4 separate regions of the Homo sapiens genome follow, and all the other regions are linked to region 1. Evidence: promoter capture Hi-C in 16 types of primary human blood cells and fetal thymus (Javierre and others, 2016). All regions are on one chromosome and are shown on one strand. The core of a region is centred on a gene start or on the middle of the fragment in contact, and the rest is flanking DNA. Distances in the headings are between cores, read along the strand shown. Region 1 holds the start of CNN2 (calponin 2). Region 2 holds the start of BSG (basigin (Ok blood group)). Region 3 holds the start of POLRMT (RNA polymerase mitochondrial). Region 4 holds the start of GAMT (guanidinoacetate N-methyltransferase).

Region 1 (3,348 bases), core at 557-3,056:
AGGTGGAGCTTGCAGTGAGCCAAGATTGCGCCACTGCACTCCAGCCTGGGTGACAGAGCGAGACTCCGTCTCAAAAAATAATAATAAAATAAAATAAAAAGAACATGAAGTATTTGCTTCCCTGATGGCACCAGCCACACTTCCAGTGCTCAGTAGCCCCATGGCCAGTGGCTACAGTAGTAGATAGTGCCACATTGAAAATTTCCTTCATCTCAGAATAACAGAAATGGTCAGCACTGGTCTAAAATGACATGGGTCGGCCAGGTGCAGTGGTTCAAGCCTGTAATCACAGTACTTTGGGAGGCTGAGGCGGGTGGATCACCTGAGGTCAGGGGTTCGAGACCAGCCTGGCCAACATGGTGAAACCCCATCTCTACTAAAAATAAAATAAAATAAAATAAAATAAAATAAAATAAAATAAAATAAAATAAAATGTGTCAAACTCCTATTGATGCTTCAAAACCCCATCTCCCTTGCCTCCTCTTACATGCAGCTTTCCTTGATTCCTCCGACAGAGCCCCAACTCTCCCTCCAGTTCCTCCAGCCCCAAGCCTCTCATTCTGTCCTGTACTTGCTCATATAGGGAAACAGGGTGGGCGGGGTGGGGGGGTTCCGCCTGTGCTGGCTCATACAGGGAATCCGGGTTGGGGGTTGGTCTGTGCCAGCTCTGTCTTCCTGGGCATGGGCTGGGCCAGAGCTAAGGTCTCCTGAGAGCCAGCACTGCCTGGCAGGAGACTGTCCCGGAGACTTTTTAATAATTTATTATTATTAGGGTTTTTTTGTGTTTTTTTTTTTTGTTTTTTTTTTTAAGACGGAGTCTTGCTCTGTCGCCCAGGCTGGAGTGCAGTGGCGCGATCTCGACTTACTACAACCTCCGCCTCCTGGCTTCAAGTGATCCTCCCACCTCAGCCTCCTCAGTAGCTGGAATTACAGGCATGTGCCCCCATGCCCGGCTAATTTTTGTATTTTTAGTAGAGACGGAGTTTCGCCATGTTAGCCAAGCTGGTCTGGAACTCCTGACCTCAAGTGATCCGCCCGCCTCGGCCTTCCAAAGTGCTGGGATTGCAGGCGTGAGCCACTCGGATTTTTATTTTTATTTATTTATTTATTTTTAGAGAGAGGCTCTTGCTCTGCTGCCCAGGCTGGAGCGTCATGTTGTGATGATAACTCACTGCAGCTTCGACCTCTTGGGCTCAACGGATCCTCCCCCTTCGGCCTCAGCCTCCCAAGTAGCTAGAACTCCAGGTGCAAGCTACCGCACCCAGTAAGAATCCTATTCTCTTTTGGACTGACAAACTCCTACTCATCCAACAAAGCCCCAGCTCCAATGGCCCCTTCTCTGAGGAACCTGCCCTGGTTCCCTGGTCCACCTCCCAGCTAGTAGAGTTCCCTGGGAAGGGGTTAGACGCCTCTAAGTGGCAGAGAGGGGCCCTCATTCCTGCCCCAAAGGTAGCCTTCTCCCCTCCCCTTTCTGGCAGAAGAGAAGTCTGAGATGGAGAAAGAGTGAGAGCCGCCCACGAGCTCTGAGCAGAGAGCCCGCAGGAGTGCCACGTCCCGGCGGCCTCGGCCCCTCCCTGCCTCAGTTTCCCGTGGCATCAAAGGGGGCGAGGGGCCCCTCCAGGCCTCTGGTGACGGGGGTGCTGTGCCCAGGCGGGGGTCCGGGGGCGACCGAGGGGGCTCAGGAAGTCCGCGGCCGCAGGAATTCGGCGCCTCCAGGCCTTATAAGGACATTTGCGCTCCGGGCCAATCAGCGGCGGGGGCGTGGCGCGCGGAGCCCGGCGCGTCCCAACCCCGCGCCAGCCCGGCGGTCCCGTCCCGTCCCGTCCTGTGCGGCCCCGTCCCGCCGCCCGCCCGCCAGCCATGAGCTCCACGCAGTTCAACAAGGGCCCCTCGTACGGGCTGTCGGCCGAGGTCAAGAACCGGGTGAGTGAGGGGCGCCCCTTGTCCCCCCGACAGCGCGGCCGTCGCACGCTCCGACCGGTGCAGGAGCCCCCAGGCGCCCCCGGCACCTCCCGGGCAGGGAGCTTGGAGACCCGGGGCGGACGGGCCCTTGTTCTCCCTGACGCCTGGTGGGGGGATGTCTGCGGGCACCCCCTGAGGCTCCCGCGAATCTTGGGGAGCACCCAGGTCTGAGATCTGGGGGACGAGTGACCCATTCCCCCCCCCAACATCTAGGGGTAGTTGGGTCTGACTTCGTCCCCTCGCCATGGCCCCAGGACCCCCACGTGTGAAGCCCCTGGCGCCCACTCAACCTTCGAGAAGGTCCGTTCAAGGTCCGACAACGCTCTGGGGGTCTGGGGGGGACCCCAGCAACCCCGTCATCTCCTGGCCACACTTCTGCTTTTGGGGCCTCTTAGCTTTGGGAGGGGAAGGGGCATGGCCGAGTGGTTTTTGAGAAGTGTTACCCCCCCACAAACAGGAATTTCCTGGCCTCTGGGACACCTTGGGGGTGTCTTGGGGGGAGGGGCGGTAGCCGCTTTGCACGGTCTTTGTCTCCCATCTGACTAATTTAAACGGATAACAAAGAGGTTCTCTGAAGGTGGCCCTGAGATATGTGGGGTTTTGCAGCCTCGAAAGAAGAGCTGGGGCCCGGCAGGGCGCGGGGGCTCACGCCCGTAATCCCAGCACTTTGGGGGGCGGAGCTGGGTGGATGGCTTGAGCCCAGCGAGTTCGAGACCAGTCTGGGCAACATGGCGAAACCCCATCTCTATAATTAAAAACAAGCCAGGGCTAGGGGAGACACTTTTTAAGAGAGCACTTGTGGTTCTAGCTCAGAGAGGACCAGACACTTCTGCAGGGTCACACAGCAGGGTCCTGGACAGGATTCCCAGGGAAAGTGGGGGGCGGGGGTTGTGATGCGAGACCCACGGACAGGACCGGGACCTGACCCTCCAGGACCTTCCAGCTGGAGGGGGGTGTCGTCCCCGCCCACCCCCTCCCCCGACGCCCACTGGGCACCTGGGAAGGTGTCCTTACAGCTGACTTCTGCAGGGGAAACTGCCTCTGCACGCTCTGAGGGCACCGGCCCTGCCAGCCCCAACAGCCACCTGCCCGGCGGCACTCCAGGGCCGGCAGACTGGAGGGAGAATTCCTGCTTCCCCGCTGTGAGCCCCTGCAAGCCTTCAGACCAGCTCTTGGCCAAAAAGGGAGGCTGAGGCTTGGGGTGGTCAAGGCCTGAGCCAGGGTCCCCAGCCCGGGGCTCACGACTCCTCCTTCAAGGGGCCATCTGCACCCTGCATTCATAGAGCCCCCCGTGCAGTGGGGTGGGCACCCTGCCGCACCCTGCATACAGCCGGCTAAGGGCACCGGTGTCCACAGGGACCCAGAGACGTCGTTCCAGCTGCCCAG
Region 2 (3,348 bases), core at 275-2,774, 450 kb before region 1:
CATTCATTCACAAGTTCCTCTTCAAAGGTTTGGCTCGTTCAGCGCCCTCGTTCTTCGTTTCCTACTTCCAAGGCCAACCTGACTTCCTCACCCTCTGGGCCTCCCCGTCTGAGTCTCAGTAAACAAGTTTCCCGCCGGTCCTGATCTGCAGAGATGGCACCTGCCACCCACTCTGCACATCCCCCTCCCGTCGCCACGGGCTCTTCCCGCCAGTGTAGCCACATTCCTGCCCCTTTCCAGTTAGCCCTTCGCGTTCGGCTTAGTCTGCGGTCCTCTTGCATTGCGACTCCGAGTTTAACTTCCAACACACACTTTCAACCTCCAAGAGACGCCCCCACCTGTGTCGCCCCAATAGCGACTTTTCTCACCGTGGTCGCCGCGGAACTTCAAGGGTCCTTCCTACCCGCGTTGCTGAGAGTCTGGGTTTACGCGTCACCTCGGGCGGGACCCGATCCTCCGCTCCTGAGGCCCCCACAATGAAGCAGTCGGACGCGTCTCCCCAAGAAAGGTAACCGCCAGCCTCTCCTGAAACAGAATGGGATCCAAATGGGATATTTGGGGGCGGCGAGTCGGTCCCGCAAAGAGAAACCAGCACTTAGAAAATTTCTCAGCGAGACCACTTTACTTGTACGGAAGGGGGCTGCCTGCGTGGGATGCAATCTCCAGAGCACACGGGACAAAGGAAGGGAGCTTCTGTTCCTCTGTCCTTTCCCTGTTGGCTGGGGTTGGACGCCCACAATCTAAGCTGATCCCGGTTGGCTAAAACTTAAAACTTTTTTAAAATAGGGTAAACGCGCCACCTGCGAGGAAAGAAGAAGGGGGTAAGGTTGATTGACAACTTTAGACCTGGAAGTTGAGTTTCTGAAGAGGAACTTACTTGTCCCAACCAAATGGTGCACAGGACGTTTATACTAAGAAATTATTCATTTTCTGAGATCCAGATTCAAGTGCCCTTTAAGTATTTTTATTTGGGCGGAGGAGGTCACTTCCTCCCACCTAATTTATTAATACGTTCATATATATATATATATATGTACATTTTTAAAGGCAGAGATGTGCGTCTCGCCATGTTGCCGCGTCTGGTCTCGAGCTCCCGGGCTCAAGCGATCTTCCCGCCTCGACCTCCCAAGGCTCTGGGAGTACAGACGTGAGCCACAGCGGCCGGCCCGTGTTTAACTCAGATAAAATCTGGGTAACACACTTTCAACGCTTCAACCCCCTCGGGCGCACCGCTCTGCGCTCATTGCAACTTTGAAAGCAGGAAGGAAGAAATGCGCAGGCTCCAGCCGCGTCCCCGCAGGCCCCACTCCCGTTTCCTAGCAACGCCGGGTCACGTGCGCCGCCGCCCGGATTCCGTAGCGTGAGCCTGCCGGAGCCGGCGCGTACATGCGAGCGTGTGCGCGCGTGCGCAGGCGGGGCGACCGGCGTCCCCGGCGCTCGCCCCGCCCCCGAGATGACGCCGTGCGTGCGCGCGCCCGGTCCGCGCCTCCGCCGCTTTTTATAGCGGCCGCGGGCGGCGGCGGCAGCGGTTGGAGGTTGTAGGACCGGCGAGGAATAGGAATCATGGCGGCTGCGCTGTTCGTGCTGCTGGGATTCGCGCTGCTGGGCACCCACGGAGCCTCCGGGGCTGGTGAGGAGCGGGTAGGGGGCGGGGGTGCGGTCCTGCAGGGGCCGGGAATGGAGGCCGCGGTGCCGACCCGAAGCCGACGGGAGCCTGGGGCCTCGGCGCGGGGCGGCCTGGGGTGCGAAAGGCCGGCCCCGGGGGCTTCCCGCGCCAGCATGGAGCTTGGGGGTGAAGTCCCAGGGTTTGAGGGGGGACTAGAGGTTCCTCCCGGCGCGGCCTGCCGGGCTCCCCCGGGCGCTCCGGCCTCGAGCCCGGCCTCTGTGTGTGGGCGTGAAGCTCCCTGCTTGGAGGCGGGAGCCAGGGGGTCCTGGCCAGGCCGGTCTTGGTCAGGGGAGGTGGGCGTCTTGCTTTTCGGTCACCTGGGGTTGGGGGTGACCTGCTTCCTGGGTGAGGGCGTCTGCGAAGGCGGTTGGAGGTGGCCCGCCCGCCGGTCCCATCGGCCAGGAGAAGGGAGACCCAAAGCCTGGGTGAGCGTCCCCTTTGGCCTGGAGCCAGGGGTCAGGGGCTGGTTGGTGCCTGCCCAACCCGTCCTGCTGGGGCTGGACTCCGCAGGACCTGGGGAAAGCGGCCTGGGCGTGGAATCTGGAGACGGGTCCACCCTGCCTGCGAGTGTTAGGGTCAGAGACCCTCCCCTGAGACTCTCTGGGGCCCCCGCAAGGGCCCGTGCGGCCTGGAGCGATCATCTTGGCGCTCCCTTCTGGAAAAGGGGCTTTTGTCCTCCAAGAGCACATGGAGGCTCTGAGTGGGTCAGCCCTCCGGATCGGGAAGGGATTACCGTTCTTCACGGGATTTAGCCCTGGCGTCTTGCCTAGGGCGTGCACCTGCCCCCGGGTGTTCTCCCAGACTCTTAAGACCTCGCAGGCTCCCTCGAGGGGCCCTGCGTGGAAGGGAAGGCGGAATCTCCCTCTGATTCTGCCTGGATTCAGCACCCAGAATGAGGTGGTCTCTGAACGCCCCTCCTCCTTTACAGGCGAGGAAACAGCCCTGTGGGAAGTCGAGGTTCCAAGGTCACAGTGAGGGGGCCCTGGCCACCCGATTCAGCGCAGGAAATAGTGAGAAAGTCGTTTTTAGCCGACTCTGACCCGCATTCGGTTTCCAGTGCTGTCTTAGGAGGGCCGTGTGTTGAGGGTGGGCAAACGTGGTTTGGAGAGCGCATTTGGGAAATGGATTGAGGTGTGTTTTTCCGGGAGAAAAGCATGACATCCTTTCTTGCTTCATAGAAAATTTCTTCCTTTGTTGAGACCCCCATTTGGTTCTGGGTTAAAGATTTATAGTGAGGCCGGGCGTGGTGGCTCACACCTGTAATCCCAGCACTTTGGGAGGCTGAGGCGGGTGGATCACCTGAGGTCAGGAGTTCAAGACCAGCCTGGCCAACATGGTGAAACCCCATCTCTACTAAAAATACAAAAATTAGCTGGGCGTGTTGGCGCACGCCTGTAATCCCAGCCACTCAGGAAGCTGAGGCAAGAGAATCGCTTGAACCTGGGAGGTGAAGGTTGCAGTGAGCTGATATCATGCCACTGCACTCCAGCCTGGGTAACAGGGAGACTCTGTCTTTAAAAAAAAAAAAAAAAGAGGTCGGGCATGGTGGCTCACGCCTGTAATCCCAGCACTTTGGGAGGCCGAGGCGGGCGGATCACGAGGTCAAGAGATCAAGACCATCGTGGCTAACACGGTGAAACCCCGTCTCTACTAAAAATACAAAAAATTAGCCTGGCGTGGTG
Region 3 (3,348 bases), core at 296-2,795, 390 kb before region 1:
CTTGAACTCATGACCTCTTGATCCGCCCGCCTCGGCCTCCCAAAGTGCTGGGATTACAGGCGTGAGCCACCGCACCAGGCCTCGGACCCTTGACCTCTTGATCCGCCCACCTTGGCCACCCAAAAGTGCTGGGAGTACAGGCGTGAGCCACCGCACCAGGCCTCGAACCCCCGACCTCTTGATCCGCCCACCTCGGCCACCCAAAAGTGCTGGGATTACAGGCGTGAGCCACCGCACCTGGCCAGGTTTTTTCCCTTTATAAAGGTTCTCCCGCCTCTCCCTTCCCGGCTGCCTAATGGACGCAGACAGGATGTGGGACAGAAGCACCGGCGGGAAGCAAGCACAGGGAAGCTCCCACCTCCCTCCCACACCACCAGCCAGGCCAGGACGAGGGCCTGCCACCGCTGGAGCCTGGGCTGTCCCTCCCAAGTTTCGCAGTCATCCAGTCTCCATTAGGCGCCTACCCCCCAGAGCCAAGCCAGGACAGCTGAGTCAGTTCAGGGTTCACATCCTGGCTCTGCACATGTGGCCTTGGCGGCGGGGCCGGGGGGGGGGTCTCTCCAGACATAATCTTGGGCCTCACCTATGTCCCTGGAAAGTGGGAGCACCTGGTGGGGTTCTGGGGAGGGGGAATTACGAGAGCTCCAGGAAGGAGCCTGCTCAGCAAGGACAGGGCCCATGAGCGGTGCAAGAGATGTTTCAGCAACGCCGTCTGGGCGTGTCCTGGGACCCGAGAGGTGGAGACCGCCCTCAGCCTGTCTCAGAATCTGAGCCTTTGCCTTTTCTCCCGGCAGCAGGGAGCGGACTCTCCTCTCCCGGGCCGCCGTGGGGGTCGCGCTCACCCTCCAGCAGCTCCACGTGGCCCCAGTCCTTCCTGCGGTCTTGGTCTTGCTCCTGGGGGCTGGCGGACGAGCTCCTCCTGGGGCCGCAGACGCCACCGGCGGTCCCTGCGGGAAAGACGAGAGCGGCTGAGCGGGGCCGGGCGTGTGGGCGGGGGCCTCCATAAAGGCAGAAGCCGAAGGGTCGAAGGGCAAAGGAGCCCTAAACGCAGCGGAAACTCTCGGAGCACGGGCTTAAGTTGGAAAGAAACTAAGACAGCGAAGGTGGAAGGGCCCCGCCGCGGCGAACACGGGCGCGGAACCGCCGAGAGAGGGTTCCTCGCACTCGAGGTGCAGCAGGTCAAAGGTTAAGAGCCCTAAACACCACACCTGGGGTCAGGAGGCTGCATAAGAAACCACGAGTCAAAGGTCAGACTGCACGGAGGAGCCTCAGTCGAAAAGCGGGCAAGGGCGAGTGGAAAGCGGGGCCGGGTCGGTGGGCTGCGCACGCCCAGGTGCAAAGAGGCAAAGGTCAAAGCGCCAAAGGCCCCGGCCGCGCGGGGAGGAGCCCACGCCGTGGCCCCCGGGCTGCCTGGCCGTCTCCCTTTGTGTTACCTTCTTTGCCGGGGAGTCCCGGGCGGCCGCAAGGCCGTAGGGCTCGTTTGAGCCCCGCCGCTCCGCGGCCCCAGCAAAGTGCCGACATTACGCACGCCGCTCCAGGCCACCCCACCGGCCCGCGCCTGCGCATGCGCCCGCGCCGCCTGCCGGGAGTTGTGGTTTCATGGTCGACGGAGGCTGCGAAGGGAAACCCCAGCCGGAAGTAGACTCCCAGGATGCAGCGGAGGCGCGAAGGCATGCGCCGGTGGACGCTCTGATTGGTTCCTCCTGCTGTTTTTAAAGGGAGGGGGCGGGACAGAGCTGTTGCCGTGGCAACTGGGAGGCACTCTCAGGCTGTTTTCCCGAGGACCTCAAATCCGGACTTTTTTTCTGTTTTTCTTTCTTTTTTGGTTTTGTTTTGGACGCGTTGTGGCCCAGGCTGGAGTGCAGTGGCGTGATCATAGCTCAGTGCAGCTTCGAACTGCTGGGGTAAAGAGATCCTCGCCCCTCGGCTTCCCAAAGCGCTGGGATTGCAGACGCCGCCACCGTGCCCGGCTTTTTTTTTTTTTTTTTCAAGGCATACTCATCTAATAACGAGGACAGCATCTGCAATTTAGAGATTCCTGTCCGCAACCTTCATTGCTCCAACGACAACTTTTGGGTAAGAGTCATTAGGATGCCGTCTATCATGGAGGAAGCTGAGGCTCAGAGAGGGCCACCAAGTTGCTGGAAGACACAGCACGTGCGACCTCAGGGAGGCTGCAAGGAGAGAAAGCCCCAGTCCGCGAGACTCCCAGCCTCCAGCTTCAGTTTACCCTCCAATCCCCAAGCCCTCAGGGGCAGGAGCCGAATGGAGCGGCAGGCTTGGATTCACCTGCTAAGTGGGGTGAGGTCAAGGGAATGAAATAAACCTCGGAGCCTAGAGCCTGCCCTGGTCTCCGCGTGATCCTGCCTAGGAGGAGCAGGGCGGGAGCTTTAGAATGGAACCTGGAAGGTGTGCCCACCTGTGTCGTTCAGCCGGGGCAGCAGGCCAGAGGCGGGAGCGCCTGCTGTGGGGCAGTAGGCTTGGGAAGGGTGAGAATAGGAATATCTGGGGGTAACTGTGTTCCAGGCTAATATCCCAGTTGCAAAGGGGAGCTGGTTTGGTGGCTCAGGCCTGTCATCCCAGCACTTTGGGAGGCTGAGGCGGGCGGATCACCTAAGGTCAGAGTTCGAGACCAGCTTGGCAAATACGCAAGCATGCCTGGCAACATGGCAAAACCCCGTCTCTAGTAAAAATACAAAAATTATCCGGGGGTGGTGGCGGGCACCTGTAATCCCAGCTACTCGGGAGGCTGAGGCAGGAGAATCGCTTGAACCCGGGAGGCGGAGGTTGCAGTGAGCCAAGATCTCGCCACTGCACTCCAGCCTGGGTGACAGAGCGAGAACCTGTCTCAAAAAAAAAAAAGTGCAAAGGGAGGTCAGTTCAGTGCCTCAGGCCTGTAATCCCAGCACTTTGGGAGGCTGCGGCGGGAGGATCGCTTGAGCCCAGGAGTTCCAGACAAGCCTTGGGCAACCGAGATACTGAGACCCAGTCTCCACCAAAGGAAAAAAAGAAATTAGCCAGGCATGGTGGTGCACACCTGTGGTCCCAGATACTCGGGAGGCTGAGGCAGGAGGACTGCTTGAGCCCAGGAGGTTTAGACTGCAGTGAGCTGAGATGGCGCCACTGTACTCCAGCCTGGGTTGACAGAACAGGACCCTGTCTCAAAACAAAACAAGTGCAAAGGCCCTGAGGCAGGAACAAGCGTGGACAGAGGAGCAATTTGAGCAGAGTGGGGCTGGGGAGAGGGAGCAAAGATGTAGCTGGGGCTCAGTTAGGGGGCCTGACCACACGGGGGCTCGGGGGCCTCAGCTCAAGCTATCCTCCATCCCCAAACCCTGGCACTTCAGT
Region 4 (3,348 bases), core at 157-2,656, 370 kb after region 1:
CTGGGGAGGCTGCCTGGAGGAGGGGGTGCGGGGCAGGGCTGGAGAGGCTGCCAGGAGGAGGGGATGCAGGGCTGGGGAGGCTGTCTGGAAGAGGGGGTGCAGAGCAGGGCTGGGGAGGCTTCCTGGAGGAGGGGGCACAGGGTAGGGCAGGGCTGAGCTGGGGGTCTGCTTGGAGGAGGGGGTGCAGGGCTGAACTAGGCTATGTGAGTCACATTTGCCACAGGACGGGAGGGCACCCTGGGCCAGCATGGACAGAGGCGGGCGGAACACAGTAGTCCTGAGCGGGAACAGCGTGGGCCCTGGCCAGCGGCCAGAGAGAGGATGACCAGCCAGGGAGGCCGAAGACGGCCGCTTTTGGGGCCAGGCCTGTGGGGAGGCGAGAGCCTTGGACTTTGAGCCCAGCCCACGCTGTTTGTCCCGGGTCCCTTATCTCTCGGGTTAGTTACTTTTCTCTCCCCCTCCCTCTATCCGAAAGTTGGATTTGCAAGAGTGGCCAGGCAAGACCTGGACTTGAGACTATCTGGGAGGGGAAGGACTGGTCCCCAGTGGGCCACACATGGGCCCCCCGCTCAATCCTGATTGGCACTGGACACTGGACGTGCCCATTTTCAGGGTGGGAACACTGAGGCCCGACCCCTGGACGGGGCCTGTGTGGGGCCAGGGAGTCCTTTCTTAGCAGCCCTTAGCGTCTGACGCCAGGCAGGCCAGGGCCACCCCGGGGACAGCTGTCTCCCTGAGCTCAGCTTTCCGAGTGCTATTCTTAGCCGGGCGAGTCGGGGCTGCTCTCCCAGGCAGGCAGAAGGGCAGCCTCTCCCTGGCACGACCCCTTCCTCCCGACCTCAGACAGGGAGCTGGGGACCCGGTTCCACCCAGTTTCACCCAGGTCTCACGTTTGAGGTCCCCATCTGGAGAGCGGGGGGCCTCACTCCCCCTGGAGAGGAAGTTTCTGGTACTTAGGCGGTGCCTAACGTGTGCGGGCCCCACGCCTGCCGCACTCCCCGTGAACGCCTCCGTGTGCCCCCACCTGCAGCCCCACTTCCCAGGCGAGGAGACAGAGGCGCCCCGGCGGGAGGGTGGGCTGCAGAGTCCCCGGGTCGGGGCAGCCCCGGCCTCAGTTTCCCCTGCGCCCCCGGGGGCGGTGCAGGCCGGGCGGGGGCTACCTTTGGAGGAGGCGGCGGCGGCCAGCGCGTGCATATAGGGGGTCTCCCAGCGCTCCATCACCGGCTTGCCCAGGATGCGCAGGTGCGTGTCCGCTGCGTCGTAGGCCGCGGGCGCCGCCCCCCACGCGGGGCTGCAGTTCTCGCCGGGCGCGAAGATGGGGGTCGCGCTGGGGGCGCTCATGCTGCAGGCTGGACGGCGACCCGACCTCGATCGCGCGCCGCCCGGGCCCGCTCCCTGCAGGGGCTTGTGGGCCGGGGGCGGGTCCAACAGGCCCGGGGGGCGGACCCGCGAGAGGACGCGCGCGCGCGGCTCCGGGAGCGGCCTCTAGCGGCGGCCACGCGAGAGGTGGCGGGAGTGGGGTCGGGGCCCCGGCCGCCCCCTCCCCAAGGAGCCTCGGTGCCCCCTCTGCGGAGCGGGCACCGCAGCCCCGCGCCCGGGGACGCGAACCTGCAGGCTGGGGACTGGAATCCCCGCCTTGCCGCTTACGCGCCATAGATTCCTCATCTGTCAGCACCGCAGAAAGGCCCCCTCCTCGCTGGGGTGTGAGAATCTGAGGATCTTCCAGGCGCTGTTGGAAGTGCTTTAAGTGTTTAAAATCATTTAATCTTCAGAAGATGCTACAGTGAGTTCTGTCTTTTTTTAATAGAGACGGGGTCTTGCTATGTTGCCCAGGTTGGTCTCAAACTCCTGGGCGCAAGCGATCCTCCCGCTTCAGCCTCCCAAAGTGTTGGGATTACAGGCGTGAGCCACCGCGCCCGCCAGGTTCTATGATGACTGTCGTTTTTCCTTCCTTCCTTCCTTCCTTTCTTTTTTGAAAGCAAGTTTATTAAGGAATAAAAATGAATGGCTACTCCATAGAGCAGCCGACTGTCATTTTACAGATGTGGAAACTGAGGCTTTGAGAAGCAAAGCCGGTGGTCTGGTGGCCACGAGGGTGGGGACCCAGCATTAGAGCTCTGATGCCCCCCTTTCATGAGCCCATGTCACACCCCCATAGGCTGGGGGTCATCTGAGACCCCGGGTCCCTAATGGGGGATTCCGCCCAAAGACGCCTCCAGTTCTGGAGACCAGGACTCAATCCCAGCAGTGCCCTTTCCTCCGGCGGCCCTGCAGCTGGGGTGTGCGGGGGTGGAATTAGGCCTCCCCCAGCCCAGGGTAGCCCCTTAGGGTCAAGCACACCCCCCGCCTGTTTCCTGGGGGCCCCCAAGCCCGCTGCGGTGGCGTCCTGGCTCTGATAGCCGGTTTCCTTCCCCCTCTGAACGTGGGGCCACAGTCATGAGCCCTGAGCACTGCCTGCCTGCCTGCCTGCCTGCCTGCCGTGCGTTCTGCACGGGTTAACAGATGCAGTTATTATGCCCATTTAACACGAGGGAAACTGAGGCCCAGAGAGGTTGAGGTTCACAGGTTGCAGCAGGGCCACGGTGTGAACGCAGGCAGCCTCGGAAACAGCTCCCGCGCGCGGCCTTCCCTGCGCCACCTTGTCTGGGTAGCTGCCTGCCCCATCACTGCCTGCTCAACGCCTCCACATGCCCCTGCCACCTCTTGCACAGCTCCTTAGCCCCGGGCCTTGGCACACGCTCTTCCCCTTGCCCAGACAGCCTCTCTCCTGGTCAGGCCGCTTTCTCGTTCTGTCTCAAGCTGAGCCCACGTGTCCTCTAGGAGACACCCCCATTCTGCCCCAGGACAGGCATGTCCTGGTCAGAAGCTGTTTTGTTTGTTTTTGTTTTTCTGAGACAGAGTCTCACTCTGTTGCTCAGGTTGGAGTGCAGTGGCATGATTTTGGCTCAGTGCAACCTCTGCCTCCCGGGTTCAAGCGATTCTCCTACCTCAGCCTCCTGGGTAGCTGTGATGACAGGCGCCCGCCACCAAGCCCGGCTAATTTTTTTTTTTTTTTTTTTTTTTTGTATTTTTAGTAGAAACGGGGTTTCACCATGTTAGCCAGGATGGTCTTGATCTCCTGACCTCGTGATTCACCCGCCTCGGCCTCCTAAAGTGCTGGGATTGCAAGGTGTGAGCCACCGCACCCACCCGGCCAGAAGCTGTTTTCTCTCTCTTTGGTAGTTCACTAACGGAAGGTATTTCTTCATGGTCCTAGCGTCCCTCTCACAGGGCTGTCAGTGATCCTGGCACACAGAACATGCTTGATAGGCTGGGTGCAGCAGCTCCCACCTGTGATCCCAGTGCCTG

Evidence for each region. The method cuts DNA at HindIII sites, captures the fragments that hold promoters and counts their contacts. A CHiCAGO score of 5 or more calls a contact.
Region 2: a contact is called between the fragment with the promoter of BSG here and the fragment with the promoter of CNN2 in region 1, in 1 of 17 cell types (erythroblasts). The highest score is 7.9, in erythroblasts.
Region 3: the fragment with the promoter of POLRMT here is called in contact with the fragment with the promoter of CNN2 in region 1 in 1 of 17 cell types (non-activated CD4 T cells); the score reaches 7.0 in non-activated CD4 T cells.
Region 4: a contact is called between the fragment with the promoter of GAMT here and the fragment with the promoter of CNN2 in region 1, in 2 of 17 cell types (M0 macrophages and monocytes). The highest score is 7.7, in M0 macrophages.

What each region holds. Positions count from the first base shown.
Region 1 is chr19:1,024,802-1,028,149 of GRCh38, forward strand. CNN2 (calponin 2) reads left to right here and starts at 1,807. Exons shown (of 7, transcript NM_004368.4): 1 at 1,807-1,923. The coding sequence starts at 1,861. RefSeq lists an enhancer at 733-1,464 and a silencer at 1,455-2,094. The HindIII fragment of the contact is 13,555 bases long and covers 1-3,348 here.
Region 2 is chr19:571,072-574,419 of GRCh38, forward strand. BSG (basigin (Ok blood group)) reads left to right here and starts at 1,525. Exons shown (of 9, transcript NM_001728.4): 1 at 1,525-1,630. The coding sequence starts at 1,564. BSG-AS1 (BSG antisense RNA 1) reads right to left here and starts at 1,177. Exons shown (of 3, transcript NR_184018.1): 1 at 1,038-1,177; 2 at 369-525. RefSeq lists enhancers at 1-345, 426-475 and silencers at 1,296-1,515, 1,686-1,865. The HindIII fragment of the contact is 7,021 bases long and covers 1-3,348 here.
Region 3 is chr19:631,992-635,339 of GRCh38, forward strand. It overlaps POLRMT (RNA polymerase mitochondrial), which reads right to left and starts at 1,546. Exons shown (of 21, transcript NM_005035.4): 1 at 1,434-1,546; 2 at 843-947. The coding sequence starts at 1,521. LOC105372234 (a long non-coding RNA gene) reads left to right here and starts at 1,473. Exons shown (of 2, transcript XR_936226.2): 1 at 1,473-1,904; 2 at 1,993-3,348. RefSeq lists silencers at 1,330-1,489, 1,500-1,759. The HindIII fragment of the contact is 10,035 bases long and covers 1-3,348 here.
Region 4 is chr19:1,400,136-1,403,483 of GRCh38, forward strand. It overlaps GAMT (guanidinoacetate N-methyltransferase), which reads right to left and starts at 1,407. Exons shown (of 6, transcript NM_000156.6): 1 at 1,161-1,407. The coding sequence starts at 1,341. RefSeq lists a silencer at 1,145-1,724. The HindIII fragment of the contact is 12,931 bases long and covers 1-3,348 here.